Regions from separate parts of the Homo sapiens genome. Here all the other regions are linked to region 1. The links are contacts of gene promoters, found by promoter capture Hi-C in human tissues and cell types (Jung and others, 2019). All regions are on one chromosome and are shown on one strand. Each heading gives the region's core, a stretch centred on a gene start or on the middle of the fragment in contact. The rest is flanking DNA. Distances are from core to core; before and after follow the strand shown. Region 1 holds the start of MSC (musculin). Region 2 overlaps TRAM1 (translocation associated membrane protein 1). Region 3 overlaps NCOA2 (nuclear receptor coactivator 2).

Region 1 (3,432 bases), core at 634-3,133:
TCCAGGGAAAGGGGAAGGGTCAAGGAGAATCCAGCGGAAACTTCTTCCCATCTCACGAGCTCTCCCTTCTCTCCGTGGCCCCCAAACACTCGCATTTAACGAATAATCCCATCAAGTGAGTTCCAGTCCGATTTAAGCGGTGGTTCCACATAGTCTGTTGGCTGCGGAAACTTCTTTGGTGTCAGAGTCCGGTCTTCCCGAGACCACGAATGGCCATGTCTGTAAATCAAAAAGAACGTGAGATATTAGAGAGAAACGATTGTCTCAAACCGAAACAGCTCTCCTACGCGAACCCCAGATATTCCTGACTTGGAGTAGCTAAGATTTTATCAGCATTCTGGGAATTTGCATGTCCTCTCTCTGAACTAAGATTTTCATTTTACTGGAGGTTGATAATCCGAGACTTGCCATATCCGTTCACGCTTCTTCCTGGACTTTGCCCGCAGGATAATTTGGTGAAACTCATCTGACTTTGAGGTTCTGTCGTTTAGTTCCCTTCCCCAACACACACACACACACACGCACACACACACACACACACACACACACACACAGTCATCCACTCCAAGCTCCAAGTAGGAACTGGGCTTGGACAGGATTTTTCCCAAGCCGGGAGAGCTGGCAGATCAGAGAGGGACTTTCCAGATAAATCCCATCTGGGGAAACGTTACTATCTTCCACAAGCAATTTTTCTAAAAATGCAAATGCTCTTTTATAGAGCTCGGCCTTCCCTCCTTTAAGAAAGGGCTTGCCGATTCAAACCTGCCCGACTCAGCTGGATTAAGTTGGGCAAGGGAGATTTGCCGTCAGTCTGCAACCTGGTGGCAGATGGAGATGGAACCAAGATTTACCCTGGAAGTAGGATATTAGTCAATGGCTGTCACTGGGGTACAATGTTCAGAACGATGCAAACAGACACGGAGGGTTGATTCTTCTTCAGGGAAATGGCTGGCCACTCCCTTGATTTGGGAGAAACTAAACTGGCCTTCTCGTTCCCAGTCCCAGAACCTCCACCCCTTTCGAATTCTTCCCAACGGGCTGACCCTGCCCGGCGCCCAGGAGCGCCCTGGGTATCTCCTGGCTGCTCTCCCGAATCCTTGCGCGCCGCGCCCCTACCAGGTTCACTGGGTGCACGTAGCCGTTCTCATAGCGGTCCTCCTGCAACAGCTGCCGCAGGTGAGCGATGTAACTGGAAGCCAGCCGGAGCGTGTCCAGCTTGGAGAGCTTAGTGTCGGGGGGCACCCAGGGCAGGCTGGTCTTGAGCCTGGAGAAGGCTTTGCTCAGCACGCGCATCCGGGCACGCTCACGGGCGTTGGCCGCGTTCCGCTGCGACTGCTTGCACTCTGCGGCTGAGCCCTTGGCCGGGAGGGGCTTCTTGCCACCACCGCCCGCGCTACCACCTGCGCCGCCGCCCCCAGCCACACGGGGCCGCTTCCTCTTGCAGCCTTCCGCGCTGCCGGCTGTGCCCAGAGCGCAGCGCTCCTCCTCGCCGTCGGGGTCCTCCTCCTCTGCCGACGAGTTGTCACTGGGCGAGGCGTAGCTGCGCTCTACGCCGCGGAGGGGCGGCCTCTTGGAGGCGGGGACCGGGTACTCCCGCTGCAGCCCCCGAAGCTCCATCTCCTCCGGATCACTCACCGAGCCCGTGGACATCCCGTTGTCCCCCTTGCCCACACGCGTCCTCTTTCCTCCCCCCTGGCCAGTCTCGCTGTCTCCGCCTTCCGCTCCCTGGCGGAGGCGGAGGCCAGAGAGCGCTCCAAGGAAGACTAAAAACCCAGGCCGGGAAGCGCGGGGTGAGAAAGCGAGGTGGGTGGCGAGAGCGTGAGCGCCCCTCTGCTGACCCCGGGGAGCGTGGACTACGAGTTGGCGCCCAAGTCCAGAATCCGCGCGCACCGCGGTAAGCTGCGCCTTTTGAAAAGGCTATCTGTACTCCTTGGAACAAACCACCCCGGGCAAAGAAGAGGGGGTTGTAAAGGGGGCCAAGAGGTGGGGCAGGGGCGTGGAAGGGGTGGGGACCGCTTTTCTGCATGCCGAAGAGCGGTTGGTGGAGGCGGGGGAAGGGGACGTCTCTGCAGAGCCGAGATTTGGGCTCTGAAGCCCGACGGCCCTTCAACATGTCTGCGCAGGATAAGTGAGCTTTCGGGGAGTGAAGGGGCACATCTTGTTCCTACCGACGGTGCTTCTACCCCCAGGTAATCTTAGCAGTGGCAAAGATTACCAGACACTTAGAAACGACGGGATTCCGACCTCTGCTTGCCTGCCAGTCTTTCCAGTAGAACTCAGTTTTCAAGTTAACCATTCATGATGTATGATTGTCTACCCAAGCCTTGCTGGACAAGAGAAAAAGCAGAACAGGCAAACAACATCCAACAATGCACAAGTTACCTCTCATTTTCCTCCTCCTTTTCTTATAATATACCTTCATGGTTTACAAAAATGGTTACAATGGTTCGTTGCCTTTTCAAATAACATCTGTAACTTAATGATATTATCTCCAATTTGCAGAACTTGAAGCTGAGCCGCCTAGATAGACGTTAAGTAAAAGACCCAAACTTATTAGGCTAAGTAGAAAAAAAGATTCAAAATCCGCGTTTTGAAATTCTGGCCCGTCGGTATTCTAGTCAGCTCCGTGCCTCCGGGTCACACATCACTGGATGTTGTAGCTGGTATTTTCCACTATCTTGAGAGTTCCATGCGTGATGTGATTTTGTTTTAATACCACAATGCGTGTGTTGGAGGATCCGGCCCTAAAGCTTTGCATTATAATGTAGGGAATCCTTGCTATTGTATTTAATAGATTGTGTATTGAAGAGCGAGCTCCTGGAAGCAGAATGCTAAGTTAGCACAATCGTCCATTCAAAGTAAAAACGACAAAGGAGCACCCTGAATGATCATGTTCCATTCCAAACAAGACTAAAACATCCTGCTCTTCCACACAAGAAAACACAACAATTTTGCAGTCTCATTATTTCCTAACTCGAAGGTCATCGCAGTTCCTGGTCAGGGGATAAGTACGTCTGTGGATACGGGCCCCAGTGGTCAGAGACTGAGTGCCCGCTGTGTGCCCGTCACTGTACTCGCGGCTTGTGAGCAGCTCACTGAGTAATAAAACCCGTATGAGTTTGGCATATGGTTACCCCATTTTACAATGATGAAACTGAGTCGTCACACAGGCTTAGGTGTTCACTTGTTCTTTTCCTGAAAGTCCACAGGCTCCCAAGCTGAGCAAGGTGCAAGGGGACCTATGTGGAGTCAGTCCAGGACAGAGCTGGCAGAGATAGCTGGGCCAGCCTGGCTCCCGCCAGTTCGTACAGCAGAACAAATGCGTCCAGCTCGATGGCTGAAGTGCTGCAACAGGTGGCTGGCAGAGGCTGACTTCATCACTCAGGCATCATTCCACCTTAGTCTCCCAGGCCACGCTACCCTTAGCAGGGG
Region 2 (3,544 bases), core at 816-3,315, 1.2 Mb before region 1:
AATAAAAAGCTGAGTTTTAGTCTACTTCCAACATGAAGTGCTTTACCCTGGAAAACTCACTGTTATTCATCTCTAATACAGTGATTAGAAAGAATTATGTGTCTGACAAACTCAAAAGTATGTAAACTATGGAACACCATATAAATTTAAGGGATTGTTATCACTAATATTAAAGCAAATACTGCCTTTCTTTTTCTCATTAGTTAGAGTGATACAACTAAAGGTTTTGATTGCCATAACTGAAAAGTTATACAACATTTAAGAAGCTTGGAAAACACTGGGGCTGTTTTTAAAGGAGGAAATGACTGTGAACATTACAACTCATGTAACCTACGCTTTTTGCTGATACAGAGGTATCTGTAAACCACTATAAGATACAAAAGTAAGGCCGGGCTTGGTGGCTCAAGCCTGTAATCCCAGCACTTTGGGAGGCCGAGGCGGGTGGATCACGAGGTCAGGAGTTCGAGACCATCCTGGCCAACATGGTGAAACCTTGTTTCTACTAAAAATACAAAAATTAGCTGGGCGTGGTGGCGTGCGTCTGTAGTCCCAGCTACTTGGGAAGCTGAGGCAGGAGAATCGCTTGAACCCGGGAGGCGGAGGTTGCAGTGAGCCGAGATCATGCCACTGCACTCCAGCCTGGAGACAGAGCGAGACTCTGTCTCAAAAAAAAAAAAAAAAAAAAAAAAGAAAGATATAAAAGTAACATTCAGAGTGACTAAAAATGAATAAGCCTTTCTGAAACAGTAAACATAGTTTAGAATTTTTGCTGTATAAAAAAATACCTAAAACAGATTTATCACTGAAACTCTTAACTTAATACTATTTCATTAGCAGAGTTTCTAATCTTAGATAAGGAAGGAGAACAACAACCTAAGAGGACATACTTACAGAGATGAGAATGAATGTGCCCCAAACACAGGCAAAAAGGTAGAACGCACTAAGCTGACCAGATTCATTAAACTTGCTGTGTTTTGTTTTGGAGAAGTGCATTCGCCTGTTAATTTTCTAAAAATAAAAACAGCCATTAGTAATTAAGAATAAATTATAAATTATATTTAATATATGACTAGCAGATTATGGAGAGCTAGTACTTTATAAAGTATAGATTTCTAAGACTGCATACTTACATCCAACATATACTCTTGAATTACGGCATGAATAATTATCGCCACTAGCATGTAGAAGAAAACAGTAGCCAAATCTTTGATGCCATAGTAATAAAGGGACACTGATTCAGTAGCTTGTTCTTCTGAAGACCAAAAAGGACACAAATACACAAAAATATACACAAGGTTATAAAAACAGCATTAAGTACAACATAGTTATGGAAACAAAGAAGAATAACCTAATAAAAAAGTTCTATATTAACATCATAAATAACGTGGTCTTGGACATCTTGAGTCTTAGAGGGGCAATGAAAATCAAAACTATCTAGAAATCTAAAGCTTTAGAAATTACTTACAAAGACTTGACACATGTTAGTCACAGCCACCAAAGACCAAAAAACAGGGAAGAGGAGGCCACACTCAATAAACTGATATTATCCCAGGGGTATAAATTAGGTTGATAAAGTTATACTTAGCCTACTGACCTATTTTTTTCAAAGGGCTTTTGAAACTTTCTACTTCTACTTTCTAACTACACACTAAATTATGATTCTGATGAAAAAGCTGATTTGACCTGTATTTGATTTAGTTTTGATCTATAAGCAGCAGAGATAAAGGCAACTACTAAAGTTGTTTTTAATCCTTGCAATTGCTATAATTTTTCAAAACAAATCTTTATCAAATACTTGTGAATTGCTGACACTTATTCTCAAACTTTATGTTTATGGGGAACATATACATAAAAGAGCTTTATTCTTCTCTGGCATATTCAAATTTCAAAACAGTATTGTAGTTTTGAGTAACCTGATAACTAAATCACTAAATTAAATATTTACAAAACTGTACATAACTGAACAAAAACCCAACTCAGGGGCTAGATGCAGTGGCTCACCCCTGTAATCCCAACACTTAGGGAGGCAAGGATTGCTTGAGGCCCAAATTCAAGACTGACCTAGGTAGTATAGTGAGACTCCATCTCTATAGTAAATTGAAAAATTAGCTGGGCGTGGTGGTGTGCCCTTGTAGTCCCACCTACTTGGGAGGCTGACCTGGGAGGATCATTTGAGCCCAGAAGCTGGAGGCTGCAGTGAGCTACGATCACGCCACAGCACTCCTGCCTAGGTAACACATTTGGCAAGACCCTGTCATCTCTTAAAAACACACATATAAATAACAGCAACAACAACAAAAAACCCCAACTAAATGTGGTATACTATATTATCTTACATTCTAAATAAAAAACTGTGCAGGTTTACTGCCTCAACCAAAAAATACCCCATCCCTCACCCATGCTAGTTAATTATATCACTGTATTAAATTACAATCAACTTCCAAGAAACACCTAATTTTTACATAGATTAAGAAATAAGATTTTTGAAATAAAACCTAATAGTTTGGATGCTATTACCAGATAATTCCTAGAGCTTACTAACACATTTTCTGGAATCAAAATAATTGTTAAAAGTAGAGCACAGGAAAAAGTGAAAATAATCTTAGAAGGATTGATTGCTATTACAGGTCCAAAATGTAACTTACAGAAAAACTAAATCTGCCATTGTGCTTTTAGAAGTCTTGAATGAACAATGACATTTAAACAATTTTAAAAAGATCTTTTCTTATAATTTTCTTAGGAAAAAATCAGAAAGCAGAGAAAGCAAAACAAAATTATTTTATGGAATTTCAAGTCCATTCACAAAAATATATAGTAAACAGAAAACATATACAGGGTAAAGTCAATCAAAAACATCAGATCTTGTATTATAAAATCATCACAATAACATTCAGTCACATCATGGATGAGATCTCTGACGATTAATTAACGCAGGACCTAGCATTCATGAAAATTTCCAAGTTTGTTCAACTGAACTTCTATTTACGTAGAAAATTCTTAGCGTAAATTACCTACCTGTTGCTGGGAGGGTGACATTGTACTGAAGAGTAACAAAAATGATAGAAGCTTTTGCCGTTATCTACAAAGAAGGAAAAACAAAGATCAAGTCAATTTGTGACCCTCTCCCAAATAACAGATCGGGGCAAAAACATTATAAAATCTGTCCCTAAATCGAAGCACCAAGGGCCTCCTCGTTCCTGTGGAATCCTGACAGACACAATGGAAATTACTGATTGCCAAGGAGCTAATGTAATTCACTAGAGTACTCTTCTGCGGTTTAGGTAAAATTGTGTAATTCATCCTTAATTTTAAGATTTCAAAAGACATTTTCTGCAGTTCCAGAAAACAGTTATTTGACAAATGATGATTCTCTACTCTAGCCCTATACAATGAATAAAAAGTTCCTATTAAGACAAATTTCAAGTGTAAATTAATAAAATAAAGAGAAGCACAGTTAGCATGAGAAAAGCAGATCAAATATAGGGTCTGTGGTGTGGGTGTGTTAGTATCCCACACACCCAGCAGAGTTAAGTGGTCAATAACT
Region 3 (3,387 bases), core at 596-3,095, 1.5 Mb before region 1:
CCAAAGATCCCACGAGAGCCCTCCTATGACCACAAGGCTCTTGTGACCACATTCTAGGGGGAAAAATAGCATCCCAAAAGTGAAGTATGTGGATTTGAGAAAAGGACACAGACTGATGAAAGTATGTTCTCAACTGTTAAAAGAGGGGGGAAATACACAGAGCACAGGTTCACAAAGCTTCTCTAGCAGGCTCTGTACAGTATCTAATACAAATTATAAATCTAGGAAATAGTAATATAAAGGTTATTAAATGTTTCCATGTGAACTGGCTTTAATATGCCTTAGTCACGACTTGGTAAGACCAAAATATTTAATACTCAGGGGCTTTCGGGGGGAGAAGAGTTCATATATATATATATTTAATATGTATATATTAATGTTATTTTTTAAATCTAAACCTCAAATTTACAAATTATATTTTTTGATATAAAAGGTTTTCTTTACTACTTTGGCTTTTTCCCTAAGAATCTGATTGAGAATTATATATCCATTGCCGGCATAAGTTATTTATCTACAACATTCAGAAAACAAGCAAGAAAACCATTGTATAAAATTAAGCAGCCATTGGCTTTAAAAAAAAAAAAAAAAGGTTACTTGGAAGCTTGGAGTGCTTATTGAATGCTTACTGTTCTAGAATTCTGATTTTAGGCAAAGATGGGATCTCAGAACTCCAGTAGCCACAATTCACACACTTTGGCAGCATATCATCCAAACTCTGACCTCGTAGCTCTGAAATAAAACACGCCTTTTACCCCTAGATGTGCTAAAGGTTCATAAAAGCAGAAGATTCATACAGAATAATAGTGGCCAATGAGGATACTCTCATCATCCACAGCAACCTGTTCCTGACACTGCACAGCAGAAATCTTCTACAGTTCTCCTAAAGGACAATAATAGCAACCCGATCATGTCTGACTTTACATACAACCTTCAAAACACCCTACCAGGCCTTGGGGGAGGAAAAATTATTGTTTTAGAAATAAACACAAGTTACTAGTAGCCCAGATTTTCCTTTCAACCATAGCTATCTCCTTTAATACAAACTCCTAAGACTGTTCTCATTTCCTTCTATAATGCTGACCTTGTTTAAGTTTGCATTTCATGAAAAGACACTGAATACTGTTTTGAAATTAAATAAATTCAAAATAACAGCATTTGTGAGATTAACATGAAAACTTTTGTGCCAATTTCTGAAGCTCTGTGGGAATAATAGTATTAAGTACTACTATTTTTTTCCTTTTTTCCTCAGGAGGTGGACTGCATTTCCAGATACAGTGAAAAGACTACCAACAGAGTAATAGTTACACCAATAACATATATAAATAGGACTGCTGAGAGTATAACATAGATTTTGGAGTTACTGCACAGAGGGACCAATAATCACAGTACTCCAGCTTTTAGTAAAAACCAGTTCACAGGTCCAAACAGTTTCAATTTAAATGTTTGATCATCAGTTTCCGTGTATTAAGTAGAACTATTCAAAGTGTTTGAAAATTATCTTAGTAAAATAATTACATATCCAAGTGCTAAGGATTTTTAAAGCTATTTCTTCAGAAAGAATCAAAGTGAAAACCACCACAAAGACCCTACTAAAATAAAAATAACAGATAACACTTCTCCAAGCCATACCATGATTTCAAGATACTATTAATCAAAATCAACATTTCTATGACTCAGTATTCTCAACTATAAATGACAACCTTTTACAAATTATTTCTAGCCCTAAAATTCTATGACTTAATTCTGTGTCTTTTTTAGGGTTTCAATATGTGTAAAATACTGTTACATAGAAGTAGACACTGTAGGAATGAATTCAACATAGACTCAGAAGTATAAGATGCAGGCCTCTGCTCTCAGTAAATTTCCAAATGAAGACTAGGAAATGAGAGAAATAACTTAAGAGTTTAGAAATCTTAGAAGACAATGCAAAGTATAACAGCTTTTATACTCAAAGCTGCAACAATTTCAAAACCTGACATACAAGTGTGCTGGCTTGGTCTGGAAAGTTAAATGTGGCTTATTCTTCTATGCTGTAAAGCATATATAGGACGTGGACAGAAAGAAAGACAAAGAGAGTGTCACAAGTGCTGGCTAGAGACATCTGGCTGAAGTGCAAGGCCGCATAGGGAAATACTTGGAGATGGGGCTGTAAAATACACTAGGCTGGGACTTTAACCAAGAGGCAATTTATAAGACATGGAAAAGTTGAGGGAGGAATGAAAGCAGAGTTTTAGAAAACTTAATCTCAAAGGGGAGTAATGGATGGATTATAGATAAAAGACCAAAAAAGCAAAATGGTGCACAATTAAATGAGGCAGAGAAATACAGCCATTATTTAGTTTTTCAAGTCAAAATCTGCTACTGAGACCAAAGTAACTCGTTATCTATATCAATGAAATTCACCAACTCTTCACTTTATTTTTCTTATAAAACAGCTTAAGTATAGTTTAGACTGTTTATTAAAACCTTTCACTGTATTTCTTAAGTGTCACATAACAAACTGTATTTATATAAAAATTCACTTTAATTTAGAAAATAAGGACAGTATTATTGGTCCTAAGCCTTTCAAAAGGAAATTAATGCTGCTGCACAGTTTCATTAATTCTGTTGGGCCGTAAGGGTGCCCTTTGGGTACTGACAGAAATCATTTATTGGTCAATGTAACCCCTCCCAAAACTGCACAACTTATTCTGTCACTCCCTGTGGGAAAGTCTGGCTGCTTATGTACTCTGTAAATCTATTCTACAAAAACAAAAGTAGCATCTCTGATATAATGGCTACTAAAATATTAAGAGTTATTAAATGTTTTCCAAAAATAACAGTAAAGTCTCAAAAAAAAGGAAAAAAAAGGGATAATTCCATTTCTGTCCCATTAACTACTTCATTATACATTTACCCATTTCTTTAGAGTTAACAGTATGCCTAAAATAATAAACTTGAGCAACATTTTAAATGCTATGTGATTTTCTATCCATTATCAAAATGAATAGACTTCACTTGAAACTCAGTTCATTTTACACACTGACGTAGTCTAAAAAATTCCACACAAATTCAATTTTGGTAACTCAAATAGTTTAAACATACGAAACATTTGGAAGATGTCCATTTAAGGAAGGCTGTAGTACAATTGGTTCTTTTATAAAATTGAGAGACACCAATGTAAAGTGAATAAATATCCCTGATTAATCTGGCTTTCTAAGTTTGGATTTTAGATTTTCTTAAAGTGTATATTCTTTTTAGATGGTGCTATAAAAACTCACTTATAATGAAATTACTCCCATCATAATAGAACAGAGAAATGTAATATATTGCAACTCAGTTTTCTGATTAGTGAGGCATGGACCCAATTATCCACAATGAGTTTCACTGTGTCTTGCTCCCTGGCAG

What was found. Contacts are between HindIII fragments. The study calls those that stand out against the background at their distance.
Region 2: a fragment that was not itself captured here is called in contact with the fragment with the promoter of MSC in region 1 in 1 of the 25 tissues and cell types used here (lymphoblastoid cells).
Region 3: a fragment that was not itself captured here is called in contact with the fragment with the promoter of MSC in region 1 in 1 of the 25 tissues and cell types used here (lymphoblastoid cells).

The regions. Positions count from the first base shown.
Region 1 is chr8:71,842,529-71,845,960 of GRCh38, forward strand. MSC (musculin) reads right to left here and starts at 1,884. Exons shown (of 2, transcript NM_005098.4): 1 at 1,117-1,884; 2 at 1-219. The coding sequence starts at 1,650. The coding sequence ends at 133. MSC-AS1 (MSC antisense RNA 1) reads left to right here and starts at 595. Exons shown (of 5, transcript NR_033652.1): 1 at 595-1,176; 2 at 1,701-1,894. RefSeq lists silencers at 1,233-1,502, 3,342-3,391. The HindIII fragment of the contact is 6,952 bases long and covers 1-3,432 here.
Region 2 is chr8:70,597,004-70,600,547 of GRCh38, forward strand. TRAM1 (translocation associated membrane protein 1) reads right to left here. Exons shown (of 11, transcript NM_014294.6): 2 at 3,016-3,079; 3 at 1,131-1,252; 4 at 892-1,008. Among named protein-coding and RNA genes, the nearest start is that of TRAM1, 9.6 kb to the right of the region's middle. The HindIII fragment of the contact is 4,816 bases long and covers 1-3,544 here.
Region 3 is chr8:70,366,171-70,369,557 of GRCh38, forward strand. The region is part of intron 1 of NCOA2 (nuclear receptor coactivator 2); the gene reads right to left. Among named protein-coding and RNA genes, the nearest start is that of NCOA2, 36 kb to the right of the region's middle. The HindIII fragment of the contact is 7,690 bases long and covers 1-3,387 here.